2 separate regions of the Homo sapiens genome follow, and region 1 is linked to region 2. Evidence: promoter capture Hi-C in human tissues and cell types (Jung and others, 2019). All regions are on one chromosome and are shown on one strand. Each heading gives the region's core, a stretch centred on a gene start or on the middle of the fragment in contact. The rest is flanking DNA. Distances are from core to core; before and after follow the strand shown.

Region 1 (3,996 bases), core at 141-2,640, 540 kb before region 2:
TCTAATGCAAATTAGTTTGAATTTCTCTCTCTTCCCTCCTGTCCTTTGCCTGAAAGTCTTCTGATACAAAGCAATACTACCGTAATTAGAAGGAATGCCTGACAAAAATACATTTTAAATTTCATTTTCAAAAAGGTTGATACTTCGTATTGCATACTCCGAATTCCCCTGCATTTCTATGCTGTAAATTCCTAAACTTTAGATAATACATTTATATCTAGTGCACATTGTTCAGTTTTCAGATAGGAAAAAGCTAAATCTCAGTCTGTGCCCGCAAAAAGTTGATATTTTTTGTTGTTTTAAGAGTCTCCATGAATGTTGTTTAAATTCTAGAATCCACAGTACTCATCGAAGCTAGGAAAAGAATTTTGCCCACCCCACAGCGTATCTGAGGCTTTCTTCACAGCTAGCTGATCGGATCCTTGCAGCTGTTTCTTCTGTAGGTCTCGGAGCTCACTGAGAACGTCCAGCACGCCTTCCCGGCGGGGCCCGGCCCAGGTGCGCACTAGATGAGGCAGTCAACCAAGTCAATTGGTTCCCGATCAACTAAATCTCTCCTAAAAATAAACACTGCCGCGAGCTTCGAGAGTTCAGCGTGTCAGAGCCTCTATGATGGCAGAGCACCTGCCGCGATGCCTGATTGGTAGGGAGAAGGATTTCCCGGGAGGGGGCCAATACCAAATTTTAGGGCTGTTAGGCTCTGAGCAGTCCCTTCGTGACCGGATAAGTCAGAGACCCGGGGTTTGAGCCTTGCCCGGCGCTGAGCGGAGGGCCCAGTTTCGGGACCACAGCCTTGCTCCCTGGGAGCTCCGGGCGGCCAATGCCGGGCAAGCCCAGCCCGGCACAGGAGGAGGCAGGGCCCGTCTCCGGAAAGAGGGCCAGAGGCAGAACTGAGGGCCTGGTTTTGTGTAATTCGATTTGGATACAAACAGGCCAGACCCAAACTGGAAACGGCGAAGGGCTGGATTAGCACCGAAGGGATTCGAGGAGGCAAACGGGAAGTAAAAATGCTGTGTGGAGCTGCAGAGGGCAAGGGGACAGGGGTTGCAAAGGAAAGAGCTTCGTGAGACTTTCTCCTTCCCGGCGTAGGGACCAGCAGAGTGCGGGCAGGTCAGCCCTGTCACCGGTTCGTTTAGGGAAAAAGCGCGACATGGGGCCTGGGAGACAGGGGCAGAGGCGGTGACAGCGAGGGCCCCTGCTCGGGTGGGCCCGCGGGCCTCAGCTCAGTCCCCTCCCGAGGGACCGCGACCCCCGGCCCCGCGGCCGCCCGCGCGCACTCACCAGCCCGGGCTGCCCTGGGCGGAGCCGCCCCGCCGCGCTCCACAGCCGCTGCCTCTTCGACGCGCGCGCTGCCTCCAGGTGCGGCTCTAGGAGGAGGCGCCGCGGGCAGTGCCGGCCGCGCCCCGCGACTCCCGGTAACCCGAGCCCGCCCCGCCCCGCTAGGGCCAGGCCCCGCCGCCACCCTCCGCGCTGGGACGCCGGGGCGCGGGCATCCCTGCCGCCTACGGATCTCTTCCCAAGCACCTAGAACTTTCCAAAGCGTGCTTGGAATTTAACACCTTGGTCGTCGATCCCCGCAAATATACTCTGATGAGACCGGCTTTCTTCCCATACCGCCCAGGAGTTTCTCCAGGTGGCATTCCTGTCGCCTTGAGGTGGAACATCAGTAGAGGCTCGAGGCTGAAGCAAGCACAATACACAAGGTATAGCGTTCAAGTGGAAAACATTGCGTATTATGATTTTAAAATGAAAAAAAAACACAAAAAACCTGACTTATCTTTTCAATTACAATCATTATAGAGACTCCGATTCGTACAGGAACATTTCGAAAACAGGAAATCCTGAGGACAATGTGAGTATGAGTTTTTTTTTTTTTTTAATTTTCAAAAATCTTTGATGAACTGCCTTTGGTTAACACTTGGTTTGCAAATATTGACTATTGCACGACAAGGCAATGCATGATAAGTTATTTTCTGGGCATTTAAGTTAGAATTTATAAAACAACTTTTGCTTTTTATTAAGTAGAATAATGTAACACGTTACCCCAAGCTGGGAGAATTGCTTGAGTCCAGGAGTTTGAGACCAGCCTGGGCAACAAAGCGAGACTCCGTCTCTTAAAAAAAAAAATTAGATAGGAAATAGCTTGTTTTGCATCTAGCAACTGGGATACAAGAGAGCACCGCAGCCAGAGTGCCGGGCTCCAAGAGGGTGAGGGGTAGAAAATGATTTCAGATACATACTTCCCTCTGGCTTTATGCCTTAGCAAGGATTATAGTTGGTTCATTAAGAGCATCTTTTTTTTTTTTTTTGCTTTGTGCATTTCTGCGCGTGCACACTGTAGTGACACGTGGCGGACTAGCTGTTTGGTCTTAAAGCTGTAAATGCACGCCTGCAGACACCAGAGGCTTCTGCCAAGGAGACCCCACCTCCAGAACCTGGGCCAGGCCTTTGGCTGGGAGCGCTGGTGCTGTTCTTCATCCGAGAGGAAAGGCTAGAGATTCCCTCCCTACTCCACACGAGGGCGATCTCTTCAAGGGCACCAGACCACTCTCCGCGTCCCTAGCTGAGGAAACCAAATTTGCTTTTCTCCACGCTTTTGAACATCTCTAAACAAATCTTAATAGGGTAATTTACTAAGGAGGAGTTGGGCTCCTGGGACGTGCATTTCTGGTGTCCTTCATTTGCCACTTGGCCTTTGCCATCCTATGAAATTATTTTGTCACATACCTGTCTGTAGCCCAGTACTTCTTACACTTTAATGTGCATAGGAATCACCTGCGGATCCCGTTAAAAACGCAGATTCTGATTCAGTAGGTCTGGGGTGGGGTCTGAGATGTGCCTTTCTAACAGGCCCCTGGGTGATCCTGATAGGCTACTGGAGGACCAAACTTTGAGTAGCAACACTGGAGACAGTTGGATGATAAACTGGTTTTGCCGGTAGCACCAGGTACCTAATATACTAACACAATAATGGCAATGTTGCTAACACCTGTTCAGTGTTTACATGTAGTAGGCACTGTTCTGAGTACATGTATTTACTTGTATAGATATTGCTATTATTTCTGGTTTAGAGATGAGTTTGCTTTTAATATGAGTCTTCCCCACCCCCTACCCCCTTCCCATCCTTGCTGGCTTAATTACATTTATTTGGTATTAGAATATTAGGGAGAGTATCAGGAAGAACAGCTAGTGGATGCTAGACCTTAATACCTAGGTGATGGGGTTGACCTGTGCAGCAAACCACCATGACACACGTTTACCTGTGTAATAAATCTGCACATCCTGGACATGTACTCCAGAACTTAAAAGCGGATAAAAGAAAAAATTAAAGAATATTAAAAAGATCTGAAAACGTATACTCAGGGAATTTTCTTCCCTCCTTTGTTCCACACATTCTAGCCAATCCTGTGTGAGTAAACAATGTCATGATTTCTCATCTATTCTTCCTGTGTTTTTGTAAAGCCACAGATATTTGTTTACATGTTCTTGGCTGCCTGCCTGCCTTCCTTCCTTTCCTTCCTTCCTTCCTTTCCTTCCTTCCTTCCTTGCCTTCCTTCTTTTATTATGCTTTAAGTTCTGGGATACACGTGCAGAATGTGCAGGTTTGTTACATAGCTATACAAGTGCCAGGGTGGTTTGCTGCACCCATCAACCCGTCATCTACATTAGGAATTTCTCCTAATGTTATCCCTCCCCTAGCCCCCCACCTCCGACAGGCCCCAGTGTGTGATGTTCCCCTCCCTGTGTCCAGGTGTTCTCATTGTTCAACTCCCACCTATGAGTGAGAACATGAGGTGTTGGGTTTCCTGTTCTTGTGTTAGTCTGCTGAGAATGACAGTTTCCAGCTTCATCCATGTCCCTGCAAAGGACATGAACTCACCCTTTTTTATGGTTGCATAGTATTCTATGGTGTATATGTGCCACATTTACTTTATCCGGTCTATCATTGATGGGCATTTGGGTTGGTTCCATGTCTTTGCTATTGTGAATAGTGCT
Region 2 (4,499 bases), core at 234-2,733:
CTCTATAGGCATGAAATGTTCAGAAGTCCCAGAAGAAATACAGAAAAGAGACATTTTTTATTTTTCCACATACTCGATGTACTAGCTTAAAATACATGTACTACATAATATTATATTTCTTGGAGCTAAATTTTATTTCTTCTGTAATGTTTATTTTTGATGCAGGGCTGCATAATGATTCCATTTTTAAGATACCTCTAAATTATAAGGGATTCCAGCCTCTACCTGGAAATTAAAGCTGTGCAGATAAAATACAAAGTCATTAATAAACATCACAAAGATAATTCTAACAAGAAGCACCATGTAAAAGTAAGGCAGGAATCAGAAAAATCATCAATTACTGACATATTAAATCACACTTTCAAAAGAATAGGGAGCTGGAAGCAGCCGCTCCCTTTCAGGAGGGCTGTATGACACTGAATGAAATGCCAGGGACTCCTGGCTGGTGAGCAGCGGGAACTTTGCGGTCGAGCGGCGCGGGGCAGCCACAGACCTGGGCGCTTCAATCTGTCACCAGCCTGCCCGCAAAGCCCAGCGACAGCCCCCAACGCCCCCCCGGGGACCCATCTGGGGGGACCGGGAGCAGGACAAAGGTCTGAAATCCAAGTCCTAGGAGTAAAGAAACAAAATGCGCAGGTTCAATTTAAAGTGCCTGCGGTAAGTACGGGGAGTGAGGGGGAAAGACACCGGCCTCCAAGAATTCTCAGGCGTTTAGCACAAGCACCAGCTCATTACCAGGAGATGCGTTCGGGGAGTGGGGACATGGAGAATGAATCCCAACTTGTGACTCCATTCTCCACTAACTTTATTCTCGCTCCCTGGACCAAGCGCATCGCTGGGGCCAGGGTTGTCATGGTTCTTGTTTCCAAGGCCCCTTGGAAGAAGGAAAGGGATGAGAAAGGTGCGCTGGCGGGCGCACCCGGCGGCGGCGAGCGCGGAGGTGCTGCGGTACCTACCATGGTATTCTTGTCCCGGAACGTAGTAGGTGGGGTTGCCCGCAATATGCAGGGAAATGAGCACCTCGCCCTGCTCCCCATCCCCTTCCAGCTCCCCGTGGTGGGTGCACAGGAAAAAGAAGGGCGAAAAGCGGGGGTAATAGCCAGCCGCCGCGCGCGCCCTCAGCGTCGCCCCCAGCAACAGCGCTAGGAGGAAAGTCTGCCGGGCCCAGCCACTGCGCTCCATGCCGCCGCCGCCGCCGCCGCCGCCGCGCGCCCTACGCGCCGCTCGCTCATTCAGTTTTGGAGACGCCGGGACGGAGGAGCCACGCGGAGAGAAGGCGAGAAGAAGGCGGACGGGAGCGGAACGGGCTCGGGAGCGGGCCTGGGAGCGGGCCCCCGCCGAGAAGTTCCGCGGGAGACGGCGGCTCCCAAAGTTACTTTGGGCCGCGGGAGCGCGGGACCGGGGCTGCGGGCGCCGAGAGCGCGTCGTCTGCCGCCTCCGTGCGCCGCCGCCGCCTCTGCGCGACGCCCCTCGGCCAGGCCTGGGAAAGCGCCCGCCCCGCTCCACACCTTCTTAAAGCCCCGGGCGCCGCGTCCCCCCCGCCGCCGCCACACGTGTCCCGGCCGCTCCCCCGCCCCCGCGCGCCGCCCCGCCCGCCCCCCGCCCTCTCGGGCTGGCTCGGCGGCACCTCGCGCGGCGAGGGGCGCACGCGTCCCCGGAGTCCCCGGCCAGCGCCCGGTTCGCACCCGGGAGGACAGGGAGGGGCGCCCGCCGGGGAGCGGGACGGGGACGCTGTCGAGGACCGCTGAGCCCGCGACTCTTCTGCGAGGGACGTCAAAGCCCCGCAGAGGGCACCTCCCGTCCAGCTGTCTGAAGGGGAAGGCCAGCCCCTTTGGCCGTCAGTGTGCCCTGTTTTTCCTGGGAGGATGCGTGAGGGAAGGAGAGGGGCGGCAGGGACGGCCGCTGGCGCCGGTTTCTTTGTCTGAGCCGGCTGCGTCCCGCGCCCCTCGGGGCTCGCAGTCTGCCAGTCCGGGCGGCCCGCACTCGTTCTGGGAATCCGCCCGAGGCCGCGAACCGCTAGGGGCCCTCGCGCTCCCTTCCCACCCAGGCCCCCTGTCCCTCCCGCCGCGGCCGCCCGGCCCCTCGCGGCAGCGACAGAGCCTCATCTGTAGAGGATTTTAAAATGAGATTAAGCGAAAGTGGAATTGGCAGACTCGAGTGGTGCCTGGAAATGGTGATTTGTGCTGCTCGGTTGTGGGGAATTGTAAGGCAGGAAGGGCTGGCGGAGCTAAGATCCGACAGGCTCTCTTCGCCGGACTGTTCTGTTATTCATTGCTTCTGGGCTCTTCAGGCAGAGATGGGTGTTGTAATTTTTTAAATCAGTGTTTATTTCCTTTAAATGTCGGTTATGACCAATGGCCCTGAAATCGGGGGAGGGAAAAACGTTCAGGGGAGATGCTGGCAGCGGTGATTGAAGCGGGTGGTAATGAGCGGCTGCACATGAACTGCAGGGAAGTGAAATAATCCATAAGCACGTTTTTAACCGAGGACGGCTGGCAGGAGCCCTGCGGCATCCGGAGATGGGGGAGCGGGGTTGCCAGGTTTTAATGCCTCTCCCCACCCACCCTTGGCTTGCCACCAAGCCAGATAAACCCGCACGTACAGAAATGAGTAGATTATAAAATTGGAAGGGATAGTGCCTTTGCCTGCATTTGTGGGGCGAGGGGCGGTGAAAATCAGGGTCCAAGGGGAGACCTCTGTAATCACTTCGTTGCAAAAGGAAGAAATTGTTTTTCTTCCTCTTACTGAGACCGAATGACAGGTAGAAAGGGCCCATTTCTAGCTGGCTTCTTGTTTCCCTTACTTCAAAATCCCCAGAGGCTTAACTGCCATATAAATAATATACAGTGTATACATATATGTATGTGCATATATATATATATGATGTGGTAACAATTGCTACACTGTAGCTCTGCGGGGTGCAGGCTGTGGGGCTAGACGTACTTTAGCTTTTTAATCCTAACACCAACTGGAGAGGCAAAAAATATCCCTATTTCACAAGGGAGGAGGCACTCAGAAATGTTGATAACTTGCCCAAAGTCAGTGACAAAGGCTGGATGCAGGGCAGACTGGCTGGCCTCAGAGGCTCTTGTCCTGCACTGCCCTGCCACAGTCGACAGCCCTAGCTGGAGCAGGTGGTGTTGCCCCAAACAGAATTAGGAGATACTCGCCCACAGCTAACAAGGCTGTTACTGCCTTCCTGTCCAGTCATGTGAATATAGCCAAAGACAAAATTAATCACTTGTAGAAAGAATCCAAAACTATTTAATGTTTTTGGCTTACACTTTTAAAATGTTTAGTTACTATGCACTGAGCACCGTCCTAAGTACTATACATACTAACTCCCTTATTCCTCATAACAATACTGTGGGAAAAGTACCATTGATAGCTTCATTTTACTATGATGAAACAGCACAGGGAGGTTAAGTAACTTGTCCAAGGTCACACAGCTAGTGAGTGCTGTGACTTGAACCCAGGCAGTCTGATTTTGACACACTAACCACTGCAAATCGCCTCTAAAGAATGCATGTTGGTGTTGTTAGAGGGATGGGGGAATAATTATTCTTCATCCAGTGTCAGAATACCTCATTTAATCCTTATATTAGCCTGCAAAGTAGGTATAATTATCTTCATTTTTAAAGAGAAGAAAGTTGAGATTCATAGAAGTTAAAGGAGCTTGGGATCAAGTCTGGCCATGCTTGATGCCAAGGTCGCTGCTTAAATAAACTGTCTTTAGTAAGCGCTGACACTTGGTCCAGGACATGATTGGAATTTAATTCATATAAGGTCCTCAATTCCCAGGAAGTCCCCTTCTTTCCATTGTGTAGTGCACTCTCAGAGAAATATTCTTTCTCGTATCTCTCGACATGGCTTTCTTAACATTCAATTTATGTGACCAAGTTTATTTTTCAATCTTCCCCTTTATTGTGCTTCCTTAATTTTTACCACTTTGCTTTGCTATTACATTTGAATAACTTTTATACTGTTAGCCATGAAGCAAGCTCATATTTCTGGCTACAGCCCTGCAGTTGTTCAGTAACAGACACAAAGACTGTTTTTAAATAATGTCCTGAGTGGTGTTGAGCTGGTCAAGAGGGGAGTAAAAGTTGGTACACTCCAGTCTGCAGTCCTTAGAACTAACATGAATACCTTGTAGAGGCTCAAGTTCATATTTGTTTCATCTCTGACACTTTTTTTGATTAGGCCAGTTCAACTAGTCATTAAAAACTTTTAAATAACCTTTAGAAAATCAGAAAAATACATAAATCATATATAAAATCCATTGAACCGAGAGTAGCATCTTCTTAGTGAGCAACTTACTTGAAATCACGCAATAAGGTGGAAACCCAGGTTAGATAGCAAAACTTCCTGTTTCCCAATTCGTGTGCTAACCCTTACACCTCGTTTCTATTTAGTGAGCCATAATAAGTATCTCCAAGAATATTGGGTCTGCAAAATCCAAAAACCTTCCGAACTAATAGAAAAATAGAGAAGTGCTT

The links. The method cuts DNA at HindIII sites, captures the fragments that hold promoters and counts their contacts. A contact is called where the count stands out against the background at its distance.
Region 1: a contact is called between the fragment with the promoter of SLC26A5 here and the fragment with the promoter of RELN in region 2, in 2 of the 25 tissues and cell types used here (mesendoderm cells and thymus).

The regions. Positions count from the first base shown.
Region 1 is chr7:103,444,817-103,448,812 of GRCh38, forward strand. It overlaps SLC26A5 (solute carrier family 26 member 5), which reads right to left and starts at 1,391. Exons shown (of 20, transcript NM_198999.3): 1 at 1,282-1,391. SLC26A5-AS1 (SLC26A5 antisense RNA 1) reads left to right here and starts at 391. Exons shown (of 4, transcript NR_110141.1): 1 at 391-1,703; 2 at 1,801-1,852. RefSeq lists an enhancer at 764-1,340 and a silencer at 1,397-1,466. The HindIII fragment of the contact is 9,476 bases long and covers 1-3,996 here.
Region 2 is chr7:103,988,175-103,992,673 of GRCh38, forward strand. It overlaps RELN (reelin), which reads right to left and starts at 1,484. Exons shown (of 65, transcript NM_005045.4): 1 at 957-1,484. The coding sequence starts at 1,182. The HindIII fragment of the contact is 8,012 bases long and covers 1-4,499 here.